Regions from separate parts of the Homo sapiens genome. Here regions 2, 3 and 4 are each linked to region 1. The links are contacts of gene promoters, found by promoter capture Hi-C in human tissues and cell types (Jung and others, 2019). All regions are on one chromosome and are shown on one strand. The core of a region is centred on a gene start or on the middle of the fragment in contact, and the rest is flanking DNA. Distances in the headings are between cores, read along the strand shown.

Region 1 (3,218 bases), core at 266-2,765:
AGTGTTCCAACGAGCTGAGGCTATTATCTTTTAATGATAAAGATAACAGATGTTAGCTTCTGGGACGGCTAAGAGGCTGATGTGAGCTTTAGAATCCATTTTTGAGTTGGAGAACAAATAACTCTGTTGAAGGGGTTGCAACCTTAAATGACTATAGGAACCAGGCAGGTAACATACATGAGCCCATCTGGTCAGGCAAATGACTGTGTCTTACCTCAAGGGACCACTCTAGGTAATTGGTAACACACATCATTTTGGGTCCAATATTGACAGGTTTGATTTTTCCACAGAAGCTGGAAAACTAGGTTTTTAACATTTAGGCCTTTCAATTATTATTATTATTATTATTTATTTTTTGAGGCGGAGTCTCAGGCTAGGGTACAGTGGCGCCCGCCTCCCGGGTTCAAGCGATTCTCCTGCCTCAGCCTCCCGAGTAGCTGGGATTACAGGCACCCGCCACCACGCTCGGCTAATTTTTGTATTTTTAGTAGAGACGGGGTTTCACCATGTTGACCAGGCTGGTCTGGAACTCCTGACCTCAGGTGATCCGCCTGCCTCGGCCTCCCAAAGCACTGGGATTACAGGTGTAAGCCACCGCGCCTGGCATCAGTCTTTAAATGATAGCAACTAATTCACCTCCTGCTACCCACTCCCAACCCCCAAATACTGTGTGGGCCAAAAACTAAAAATGCATTGTCTGTGAGCCATTTCCTTATTATCCTATAAGGAAAGTCACCATTTCATCTCCAAATAGTTGGGCATTACGAACCCTTCCAAGTGGTTCATGAGGATTTGCTTTTGCCTTGGAAAATGTCAGGGTGAGAACGAACCTTGAGGGTCACAGGGCAGTCTCTGCAGTGTTGTGGTTGCCCAGGACGAAGGTTTTTCTAGCCCACGGCTCCCACTACTGGTCACTGCCCCAGGCCAGACCCTGGCCCTCTCCTCGGAAGACAGAGCAATGCAGCAGCGTTTCCCCTGCAAACTGCCTGCCTGGCTGCTGGGAGGGGGCTGCCAACCTTACTCACTAAGCGTCACAGGAAACTCCGACCTCCATGAGACGAAAACCAAGTATTTACTGAAAGCTTAACGCACGCTAACTCCTTGCTCCTTAGCCAACTGAGAGAAAAATTCGCGAACCCATTCGCAAACGCGGCGCTAACAGCAAACGGGAGGCTGACTCCACCCAGAGGATGGCGAAGCGCTTAAACCGGAGACACCTGAGAAGGAGCCTCCCACAAAACAGACCATGTGGGGAACGGTACCGGGAGCTGGACTGGGGCGCTGAACTACCTGGGCGGGAATCGCCTCGGCGACTGTTCCGCGCGCCTCCGCTTGAGTCAGCCCGGCCGGGAGCTTGACAGCCGGAAGTTCATCGCAAGCCCGGCGACGCCGCGCACGCGCTGTCTCCGTCAGACCTCCGCGCCTGCGCGCGCAGCCAGGAAGTGAGGCCGCGGCGGAGGGGACGGGGCTAGGCCGGGTCGCCGCCTGACGCGACGCGTCCTCACGGGCGCCTACGTCACGGCGTCGAGGCGGAAGATGGTGCACCTCCGGGCCGGCGGTTGCTGAGCTGACCCGGACGGCGAGGGAGCGGGAGCCCGAGCCCGACCACTCCGGCTGCCGCGGGGTGCGGCGCAGCCACCGCCATGTCGCTGCTGCAGTCGGCGCTCGACTTCTTGGCGGGTCCAGGCTCCCTGGGCGGTGCTTCCGGCCGCGACCAGAGTGACTTCGTGGGGCAGACGGTGGAACTGGGCGAGCTGCGGCTGCGGGTGCGGCGGGTCCTGGCCGAAGGTGAGGCCCCGGGTCGGCAGCGCGGGTGCGGCCGCGGAGTGTTGTCTCCGGGACGCTGGGGGCAGCGTCAGCCCGGAGTGGAAGGGCGTGGGTTAGGGCTGGGGAGGGTCCCAGCGGGATCGTGGGTCAGGGTCGGCCAGGGGAGGGTCTCTGCCGAGGGCGTGGGTCAGGGCCAGGCGAAGGTCATAGCGCGGGCGTAGGTGAGTGCCTGCTGGCGGTGATTGCGGAGGGCGAGGCTGGGACCGGGTCGGGGTACTTTCTTGTCATAAGAGTAGGGTCAAGTCGGAGCAAGGCCTGGGGCTTGGGGAACCCCCTCAGGGTGGGTGGGGGAAGATGTTACGGTGAGGTGGGGGATGGTGGCAGGCAGGGAGCTTGGGTGGGGACCCACAGCGGAGACTGAGGGACGGTGCCTAGAAGGCCGACAGCTGGAGTCAGGAGGTGAGCGGTGCAGGAGGTGGGTTTAAGCCTTGGCCTTTTGCCGGACATCTGGGGTTATTGAGCAGGCAGGGACAGGACTGGACTTTGGAGGTTAGGGCTGGTTCTTCTACAGTCCAGGGAACTTGAGAGTTGGTGGGTGCACACGTGTTGCAGGTAGTTGCGGTTGTAGCCTGGGGGGTGGGGGGGTTGGCCGAGGGTAGACTGGGCTGTGTCTCGTGATCCCCCTTCGTCTTTCAACACCTCAGTGTTTCTCTTCCCGGTGAACATCTACTCGTGTGATTCCGTGTGTAGTACAGGAAGCAGAGCCAGTGGTTGTGACCTATATAGAACTTGCAGAGTGGACAGGTCACTCGGCTTAAGTCCTCTTGAGTCAGTCTTGAGTCAGTTTTGTCTCTGCATGCTATTTCTAGCTCCCTGGATGTCCTCTCCGTTCACACGGAATCGATCACCAGTGCCAGTGGGTCCCATTCTCTCTTGTGGATTTTCCTTACATTTTTTGTCCAGTGGTGCCTGGAGGTGTGTCATATTTCACTGGCTGTGAAGTTTATGGGCTAAACACAGTTGACTTGGGTGCGGAAGCGTAACTCTATTCTGCTGTATTGGCACAGGGAGAGGGAGTGAAGCGACACAAAAGCCCTCACCCTCACCAGCTCCCTGGTACCTCTCAGGGCTGGAGGGTTAGCCTGTCCAGGTGCCTGCTCTGTGACCAGACAGGAGACTATCCCAGAATTCTGATTATCACAAAAGGCCTGCGGAGACATTTTGACTGTAGCATTATCACACACTTTGTCTCCATTGTGGTCAAAACCAAACAGATTTTGGGTATGATTTGGTCAGAAAGTCTAAGCTCTTCTTTCAGAAGTGGGGGCTGAAGTGTGATATTCTTTCACATCAGTTGGAAGATTTCTCTCAGATCAAATCATTTATTCTGAAAATACTAGGTGGTTATCTTCATTCTTTAAGAAGTTTATTGTGGACAGGACTTGCTTTCT
Region 2 (3,161 bases), core at 482-2,981, 1.0 Mb before region 1:
CCCTGCCCTGTACTAAGGCTGCTGGGAACGCTCTGCATGCACACCCGGACAAGCAGAGCCTCAGGGTGCCTGGGTGCTGAGAGGTGGTTAGCTCTAGCCCTCCGGCGCAGCTGAAAGACACGCTGCACCTCAGAAGAAAATGTGCAGATGTTTGAAAATAAGCAGCTAAGGAGACAAATGCTGGCGCTGCCACAGGGCAAAGTCCAGTTCTACAGGTGACCATCAGGGCTCCAGGTCCAGCACACTGCAGAAGCTCACAGTGGAGTTCCGCATTACCTTGTCTATAGTGAGCATGTAGAAGTGGGTGATGTCGTTCTCGTGTGCGTGCTTGATTCTCGCCATGCACTCCTCCTCGTCGATCAGCTCCCCAACGTACTCGTTAACAAATTCTCCCTGGAAATCACAAGCATGTGGCCATGACAAAAAGCGTGCTGACCAATCCTCAGTGTCGGGGCTCAAGACTCCCCATCATGATCACTTAGAACGGGCACCACACACATCAGCATACCTCCGTGGAGGGCGTGTACAAAGTCTCCATAAATTAAATTCAAAGGATCTCAGACATATCTGTATGTAAAGGTTGCCAATGAAAAATGTATTAAGTATTCACGAAGTGGCAATATGCCAACCCTTGCTTCCTACACGACCTTGTCTCAGGAGCGCTGTCTGATAACCAAGCTTCTACATAACCCACTTTACACGGTGATCCCCACAACAGAGAAAATGGCTACAAAGTATCTGACAGGATGTAAAGCAAGAGTCTGGGTGAATCAGCAGTCAGGCAGGCGAGGAACAAGGGTGCTGGGGAGGTGTTTCTAAGCAACCTTTTGTGCTGTTGCTGGAACTGGCACCAGGCTTATGAACTCTCTGTGCTGGGTCAGCCCTGGTATGGACCTGGGTCATGCCAAAATACATCAGGGTCAGCAGTTCTACATGTCTCTCAGTCCCTGGATGTCCTTGGGACACAGTCTGGGAGCAGAGGCAGGAGGTCAACTGTCCTGGTGTCTACCAACGACTTGGTCCTAGACTGTGCCAGGACCACCCCTCACAAGAGCAATCTCCTTACGCCTGCTGGTGAGTGCTCCCAAGCACCTGGCTACTAGCCCAGAGGAAAGTGGGTCACTTCACAGATCTTCCATTTCATAAAAATAACCATCAGAATTCTGACATAAGGCATGTTTTAAGGGAATGTGTGAGTTATAGCAGATACCTTTCATGTAACATTTTAAAATATTCAATTGTAATAATTCAATTCAAAAAAATATTTCAGGTCAGGCACAGAGGCTCTTGCCTAAAATCCCATTGCTTTGGGAGGCCTAGGCAGGAGGATGGTTTGGGGCCAGGAGTTCGAAATGAGCCTGGGCAACACAGCAAGACCCCATCTCCAAAAAAAAATAAAATTATTAGGGCATGGTCAAACACGCCTGTAGTCCCAGCTGCTTGGGAAGCTAAGGTGGGAGGATGGCTTGAGCCCAGGATTCTGAGGCTGCAGTGAACTACAATCATGCCACTGCCCTCCAGCCTAGATGACAGAGTGAGACCCTGTCTCAAAACAAAAACAAAAAAAATTTTTTTTCCAAAAAATACCATTCTCACATGACTACAAAACCACCACAAGCAAACCTAGGCCTAATTACCCAGTGAACCGTAATTTCTCAAAAGCAGGGGAGGGGATAACGACACATACCTTTCTGATGTCCCTCTTGGCGACCAGGCCCCACCCTTTGCCATCTGTCTTGATGATCTTGGTCTCTGGGTACTGGCGCTTGGTGAAGCACTGGTTCTGGCAGAACTCGCCCGCGGGACACACCTGCGGGTGGCACTCAAACATCAGCATCCTGTTCAGACACTCCGAATCAAAGCCACAAGGATTCTCATCTGTGGGCTTGCAGTTGCACTTAGGGATTTCTGAAATATCCGCTGTGTAGATCTGGACTTTCCCGTAAGGCTTATTCACCTGCAGGGAAGGAGTAAGCTGTCTTGGTCCACACATGAGAGCCTTCCGAATACCCTTGCACACCCACCACTGCCTCTCCTTACCCAGCCTCCAGGTGGCCTTTTAGAAAGCTTCAGAGTCCTGGCTAGGACACACTACTCAGAACAGCCCTCCCCAGATCCCAGAGGAGCTCTCCTCTGCCTTCTTAGCACAAGAGGCAGGCAGGGCAACACAACGCCCCCTCACATTATTTTATCTTAGTGTCTGTGCACATCGCTGATGAACAAGAGCTGACACGTATCCAGCCAGGCCATTGTAAGATGAAGAGAGAAAAAGCGTGTTGATTGCTTAGTACACTGCAGGGTGTCCAGCAAACGCTGGTAAGAGCTCTTCTGAGCAGCTTCCCGACCCATCTCTCTGACTCTTCCTTTACCAAGCACCAGCAGCAAGCCACATGGGAGTCCACCCCAGGAGGAGCAGTGCTAGGCAGGAGGGCATAGCCTCTGCTCTCATGACCTTGTGGTTTACTATTAGTGAAAGACAAGCAACCAAATAACAAAGCAGTAGAGACAGCTGAAAATCAGCTGGGGTAGAAATGCATAATCTTAGGGAAGAGGTGGCGAAAGACACTCTTTTCACTGCTGTGGTATGACAAACTGTACATTTTGGAGAACAATCTGGGAATATTCCCCAAGAATCTAAACATTTCATACTCTCTGACCCTGTGATTCTGTTTCTGGGAATCCATCCCAAAGAAAATATTATATAAAGATGAATACAGAGCACTTTCTTTACATACAAAGATATTGACTGCAGCCCACATTTTACAAGCAAAGGCAGAGCACCTGACCTCCGGCACACACTTATCACAAACACTCGTCAGGAACGGCCACGAGGCTCCTGGGGATGCGGCTTGCCGCACCAGCTCTGAGCGCAGGCAGCCCTGAGGGGCCTGGAGCTCTCACAGAGCCCTGCCCTGGCTGCACTTCCTCCTGCTGGGGCTCTCGAGCTCACTGGAATAAACACAGAACTGGCAAGCTCCCCTGCCGCCCCGCCATCTTGCTCTCTGAGGTACAGGATCTACGTGTTTGGGGCTCAGTCACTGAGCCCTGGCCGTATGTGACTGACTCCCAGCACTTGGCAACAGCCTGGTGCAGGTGGGAGGCTCATCCCTCAGCTCCTCCTGCTCCAAGCAGCCCGGTCAGGACTGTCACCCCAACCCTTC
Region 3 (3,291 bases), core at 1-2,500, 1.3 Mb before region 1:
GGAGGGACCCACCTCAGGCTGTGGGGCTGGCAGAGACTGGGCACCCTGTGGCCTGTAGCCTTGGCTAGGTCTTGGCAGGGATGGGGAACCTCCCGGGCCCAGGCCTGGGTGCCCCAGTGCCTGGCCAGGGGGATGGGGGGACTCCTCTTCCCGCTGTGAGCTCACAGCCCCCCTCGACCCCAGAAACTGGAGGAGCAGGACCGCCGGGCACTGAGCATCAAGGAGCAGCTGCAGCAGGAGCATCGTTTCCTGAAGCGGCGCCTGGAGCAGCTGTCGGTGCAGAGCGTGGAGCGCGTGCGCACAGATAGCACGGGCTCTGCTGTCTCCACGGACGACTCAGAGCAAGGTGGGGCGTGGGGCGCGGGGCAGCCTCACCTGGGCCTCCGGGTGCGCAGTGGTGCAGCTCCCTGGGTGGAGAGGAGGTGCCTGGTGCTGGGGCTGGGGAGAACCCTCCCAGCTCCCTGCTGCACTGGGGTGTGTGTTTGTCACTAAGCGCAGAAGGGACTGGACAGGGAGGGTGGGATGCAGAGGCTGTGTGGCCCGCTGAGGACTGGTGCTTCTGAGGCCGGGTTCTCAGCCAGAGCCCTCCTGGCGTCTGCTGCCCCAGGGCCCAGACAGCGCCCTCCGCACTTCTGCCCCTCTGCCTAGAGCTTCTGCTTCCAGAAAAGGGAGAAATGGGCTGGCACCCTCAGAGTGGCCTGACCCCATCCCCACTCTATTCTCCCTAGAAGTGGACATAGAGGGCATGGAGTTTGGCCCTGGTGAGCTGGACAGTGTTGGCAGCAGCAGTGACGCGGACGACCACTACAGCCTGCAGAGTGGCACCGGCGGCGACAGTGGCTTCGGGCCCCACTGCCGGCGGCTGGGCCGCCCCGCCCTCTCGTAGGCCCGTGCCCTCTGCTCCTTGGCCTGCCTGCCCGCCAGCCACGCGTGTCAGCCCTCCAGTTCTCCTTCAGTTGACGCCAGCCTCTCCACAGGCCCACTGCTGTGCCATTCTGGAAGCTCCAGCTGCTGCTGGGCTGCCTGGCACTGCCCGCTTGCCGGTCAGGGCCTGCCGAGCTGCCTGCCCCTTCCAGCTGGGCAGAGTCCCCTGCAAGGAGGCAGGGCCCAGCTTCCACATCCGGAGCCCTGGTCAGCATAGCCGCCCACGGTCTGTTCTCAGATTCCTAATCATTCCAGAAGTATTAAACGTCATTGCTGCAAACCTCGGCAGGTGCCGTGTGAGGGGCTTAATGACCACCACAGGGAGCTCAGACCCCAACCCTGGATCCCAGGAGAAAGGAGTGGACCGAGGAAGGAAGGAAGGCAAGGCTGTCTGTCCATCCGTCCGTCTGTCCACCTACCTGTCAGTCCACATAGGCTCCTGGCGTGGACAAGGGGTCTGTGAAGGGCGGGAACTGGGTGAGCACCTGGGGCAGGTGGGTGGTTAAGGTCCTTCCCACTTCGCAGGTGTCAGAACCTAGGGCTGGGCTCTCGGGGCCAGGCAGGCCAGCCCAGCCCACGCCGAGCTGGGCAGCGTCTGCTCTGGTAGGACTGTCAGACGCACACGCGCACGCACCTAGACACACCCACTCATGTACATGCTCACACATGCAGACACACCTGGGCGTCCCGAGGTCACATGTTCTGGGGATGATGGCCTTCAGGGGTCATCTGGCAAACAGCCCCTGGGCTGTGCCTGGATCCCCCTCTAGCTCCTGCTCACCCACGCCCACCCAGTAGTCCTGCCTGTCTGCACAGGAGAGGGGCTTCTCTTCCTGGCTGGGGCTGGGGTGAACTGGAGGCTGGTTAAGTTGCAGCCGCTGGGTCCTCGGGGGCTTACTCATCTCCCTTTTTTAAACAAAAAGCAAAAAAGTAAAATGCTGCACTGCCCAGCAGCCCGGTTAGGGCTCCTGGAGCCACCTTAGGAAAGGGCTTCTCATGAGCTCTGCTGCGGCAGCTTCAGCTGGCAGAGAGGCTTTCCCAGAAAAAAAAAAAAAACCATTTTTAAAAAGAAGAAAGCCTAAAGACTCTCGGCCTAGGGACGTCCGTGTGTGCCGCCTCTGTTTCCTGTACCAGATTTTTGTATTCTATTTTCCTAGCTGTTGTTGCGTCCTTGTTTGCTGAGGGGTGGGAGCCACCCAGCGTCTCAGGGACCTGTCCCTCCGTCACGTCGTCAAAGTGTGCCTTGTGTCTTGTGTCAGGCCTTGCCCTTCCCACCAGCATGTCCCTCGTGGCTCAGGGTGCCCCAGGCCTGCCCAGCTAGTGCTGTCCTCCCATCTCCTGTGGGCAGCCCCTCCCGGCAGCCAGGGCTTCCTGGAGGCGATGCAGCCAGGCCCCTGTGGGTGGCACGGAGGGGCTGTGACCTGGTCCCCAGTGTTGCCCTCCCCAGTGGCTGGCAGGGGCCTGCTTGCTCACTAGAGAGATGGATTCTCACCTGTCACCTGACTCGAGCCCCCTGCTTCCTGGCCTAGGCGAGGGTTCCAGGTTTCAGACACTGGCAGCCAATGAAGACTGTGCTCGCTGGGTGGTGCAGGCCTGGCACCAGGAGGCTTGCACCCGCCTTTCCTTCCTGACGTCCTCTGTCCTTGGGGCTGGCCCATAGCAGTGCCTGCCGTGCCTCTGGTACATCTGTAGCCAATTCCCATATCATGGGGAAAATTCGTGTCTATTTTCAGTCGTACGCATAGACGCCCCAGGATGGGGGGCCCACTGTGGCGGAAGGGGGTCCCTGGAAACAACTCTGGCACAGAACCTGCCCTGCAGGCTGTAGGGGGCATGGTGCCTGGAGCTGAGGGGCATCCGAACGCGTTGCGGGTGGTTGTGAGGAGGCCTGTCTGCATCTCCTTCCGGCCCCACTGGGGTCCAGGGGTGCCCAGAAAGGAGCTTCCCCTGCCTGCCTGAGTCTGTCCCCCCAGGCTTCATTTCAAACACCGTGGCACCTCCGAGCAAGGCGGGCCGTGTGTAAAAGCTTGCTTCCCCAGCCAGCACTGCAGGGCCCTGAGGTGGTCGTGTCCCTGCCCTCAATTCTTGAAGCACCAGCTCCCTGCCCCACCCTCCAGTGCCTGAGGCAGCTAGGGGCTTCTGCTCTCATCTCTGACCAGCAGAATCCACCCGGTGACCAGTGGTGGCCCCTCAGCCCACCCTCCCGGCAGCTCAGCCTGTGGCTCTTGAGGCCGTGGTTCCCACGTGGACTGGGAGGCAGTCTCAGCCACCCGGGGTGCTGTTCAGCTGCCCCTCCCTGCCATCAGCAGGTGGGTGAGGGGTTGCCCACTGGGTGGGGGCCCGTGCTAGGAGTCACCACATGCTCCA
Region 4 (3,161 bases), core at 267-2,766, 1.0 Mb before region 1:
CACTTGATCACTCAACAACCTCACCTATGGCAGGTGCCCCAGAAGAATGTTCTGTGGGCCAGAAAAATGGCGCAGGGCCTGCCTGCTCCTCTCAACTACAAATACAAGTTTAAAGAAATAAGGTAAATGATATGGTGTCCACATATTTACACCTTAGCAATATGTGAGATGTATTTTCCATTCTTTGAAATAAAAAGAGCATTTTAACTCAGATCAGTGAAAAACAGGATGAAGCTTTACTCAAAATCACAAATATACAACTACTCTGTCAGAACTTTTTTTTTTTTTTTTTTTTTTGAGATGGAGTCTCCTTCTGTCACCCAGGCTGGAGTGCAGTGGCGCAATCTCAGCTCACTGCAACCTCCGCCTCCCAGGTTCAAGTGATTCTCCTGCCTCATCCCGAGTAGCTGAGATTACAGGCATGCACCACCACACCCGACTAATTTTTGTATTATTAGTAGAGATGGGGTTTCACCATGTTGGCCAGACTGGTCTTGATCTCCTGACCTCAGGTGATCCACCTGCCTCAGCCTCCCAAAGTGCTGGGATTACAGGTGTGAGCTACCACACCCGGCCAGAACTATTATCGAATAAAATAGAAATTCAAACAAAGTACAAAGTCTAATTAAAGTCTCAGTTCATGAAAAAGTTAACCGGACATCTGAGACAGTTGAAATGAATGGCACCACTTCATACACTAGGAAAAGGGCTCACGTCTTCTACATGCATGGGCACCATACGCTAGACAGAATAACCCGGTGTTTCCTTGGTTGGTTTCACTCCCCTGCAGGTACCAGGCAAACTCTGTCCCTGGACACATGCTGGCAGTAAGCGAGGAGCACAAGGACCCGGGGCTGGCTTTGTATCTATGCTGCACTTTTCCTGCACAGCCTGTTTAGTATTCCCATTCAGTAAACAATAACATGAATTACTAATAAACTAAATAAAATCTAGGTTCATTGCCTTTAATGAACTGTTGACTTTTTATTGACATGTAACACATATCTCTAATGGACTTTGATGCCAGTTCATTACTTACATCCTGAATAATAAGCCCTATAGAGAGGTTATGGTGTTTGGGGGTTTTTTTGTTTGTTTTTTTTTGAGACAGAATCTTGCTGTGTCGCCCAGGCTGGAGTGCAGTGGCATGATCTCAGCTCACAGCAACCTCTGCCTGTCAGGTTCAAGCAATTCTCCTGCCTCAGCCTCTTGAGTAGCTGGGATTACAGGTGCACGCCACCATGCCCAGCTAATTTTTTGTATTTTTAGTAGAGACGGGGTATTACCATCTTGGCCAGGCTGGTCTCGAACTCCTGACCTCAAGCAATCCACCTGCCTCGGCCTCCCAAAGTGCTGGGATTAGAGACGTAAGCCACCACACCCGGCCAAAGAGGTTATTTTTAGTGACAATTTTGTCCAATCTAAAAAACAAGTATTACTCAAAGCATTTGGATGTCTGTTTTCTTGCAGAGCAACACACCATCGGTTTCTGTGATAACACCCCTGGAGGGTAAGAACCTGCAAGCAGCCTTTCTCAATGGGGTTCTGTAAGAAATGCAAGCCTTCTGCTGAATACCAGCCTGGAAGGAGCTGGGTGCACTGACACCTGCATCTCATGTGTGCTCCCATGCAGGGAAACAGTGGCACCAAGAGTCACAGAGCATACACTCTGACAGGTCAAGCAAACCTGGAACACAATTACCTTCCGAAGACTGTGCTTGTCCGTCCTGAGTCTTTTCCTGGGTGTGTCCTCAGCTTCAGCATCTTCTGTAGGGTCCTGTATCCTCTTTGTGTGGTTTCTTTTTTTCCCATTTACATTACCTTGGAATGGGGAATGGGGAAAATGTACATGAAAACCACTCCAAAAGCTGCATTTGAAGCACTGTGAGAACCTACCCAGGGCATTCAACATACAGATCCAGCCCATGATGGGTTTCCTGTAACCCTGCTGATTTCCAGGGCTTATGTCTTACAGATCAAATCTCTTTACAACAAAAAAACTGGTGACTATATCTAACCTTAGGGATTATATTAGCATCTGTTTTATCTGTTTTTTATATATATATATATATATATATATATATATTTTTTTTTTTTTTTTTTTTTTTTTTTTTTTTAAGATGGAGTCTCGCTCTGTCACCCAGGCTGGAGGGCAGTGGCACAATCTCAGCTCACTGCAACCTCCGCCTCGTGGGTTCAAGCCATCCTCCTGCCTCAGCCTCCTGAGTAGCTGGGATTACAGGCACGTGCCACCACGCCCAGCTAATTTTTATATTTTTAGTAAAGATGGGTTTTCACCATGTTGGTCAGGCTGGTCTCGAACTCCTGTCCTCGTGATCCGCCTGCCTCGGCCTCCCAAAGTGCTGGGATTACAGGCGTGAGCCACCGCGCCTGGCCTTATAATTATAATTTAATGTATTAAAGCATTAAATTTAAATATAACCCAGTATTTTATCTATTTATTTATTTTTGAGATGGAGTTTCGCTCTTGTAGCTCAGGCTGGAGTGTAATGGCACAATCTCAGCTCACTGCAACCTCTGCCTCCTGATAGCCCAGTATTTTAAAAAAATCTTTTCCTAGGCCGGGCATGGTGGCTCATGCCTGTAATCCCAATACTTTGGGAGGCTGAGGTGGGCGGATCACCTGAGGTCGGGAGTTTGAGACCAGCCTGACCAACATGGAGGAACCCCATCTCTACTAAAAATACAAAATTAGCCAGGCATGGTGGCACATGTCTGTAATCTCAGCTACACAGGAGGCTGAGGCAGAAGAATCGCTTGAACCCAGGAGGTGGAGGTTGCAGTGAGCCGAGATTGTGCCATTGCACTCCAGCCTGGGCAACAAGAACGAAACTCTGTCTAAAAAAAAAACGAAAAACAAAAAAAAAATCTTTTCCTTACTAACATTCAAAGACTTGTGGAATTTAAGTTGAACTTAAAAAAAAAAACAACTTGCTACTTTTTAAACATTTCCTTAAACATGTTAAGTAGTAACACAACATTTATATATGCAAATTAAGGGCTTCCTCCATGTTTGCTCAGCTGTTCCATGTGTTAGGTGTTCCCAGGAATAGCAGTTAATCCAAGACCTAAGGCATCCAAACAATATCAACCTAAGACGGTAAGGTGTAAGTGCAAATTCTACAGAGATGATTAATTTC

The links. Contacts are between HindIII fragments. The study calls those that stand out against the background at their distance.
Region 2: a fragment that was not itself captured here is called in contact with the fragment with the promoter of GAK in region 1 in 1 of the 25 tissues and cell types used here (dorsolateral prefrontal cortex).
Region 3: a fragment that was not itself captured here is called in contact with the fragment with the promoter of GAK in region 1 in 1 of the 25 tissues and cell types used here (spleen).
Region 4: a fragment that was not itself captured here is called in contact with the fragment with the promoter of GAK in region 1 in 1 of the 25 tissues and cell types used here (spleen).

The regions. Positions count from the first base shown.
Region 1 is chr4:930,613-933,830 of GRCh38, reverse strand. It overlaps GAK (cyclin G associated kinase), which reads left to right and starts at 1,515. Exons shown (of 28, transcript NM_005255.4): 1 at 1,515-1,788. The coding sequence starts at 1,644. TMEM175 (transmembrane protein 175) reads right to left here and starts at 1,371. Exons shown (of 11, transcript NM_032326.4): 1 at 1,291-1,371. RefSeq lists an enhancer at 930-1,249 and a silencer at 1,410-1,729. The HindIII fragment of the contact is 8,506 bases long and covers 1-3,218 here.
Region 2 is chr4:1,958,267-1,961,427 of GRCh38, reverse strand. It overlaps NSD2 (nuclear receptor binding SET domain protein 2), which reads right to left. Exons shown (of 22, transcript NM_001042424.3): 17 at 1,688-1,957; 18 at 277-393. Among named protein-coding and RNA genes, the nearest start is that of MIR943, 27 kb to the left of the region's middle. The HindIII fragment of the contact is 4,522 bases long and covers 1-3,161 here.
Region 3 is chr4:2,248,139-2,251,429 of GRCh38, reverse strand. MXD4 (MAX dimerization protein 4) reads left to right here. Exons shown (of 6, transcript NM_006454.3): 5 at 184-346; 6 at 729-3,291. The coding sequence ends at 886. MIR4800 (microRNA 4800) reads left to right here and starts at 1,274; the gene lies at 1,274-1,353. The HindIII fragment of the contact is 7,274 bases long and covers 1-3,291 here.
Region 4 is chr4:1,933,804-1,936,964 of GRCh38, reverse strand. NSD2 (nuclear receptor binding SET domain protein 2) reads right to left here. Exons shown (of 22, transcript NM_001042424.3): 7 at 1,703-1,821. Among named protein-coding and RNA genes, the nearest start is that of MIR943, 51 kb to the left of the region's middle. The HindIII fragment of the contact is 3,686 bases long and covers 1-3,161 here.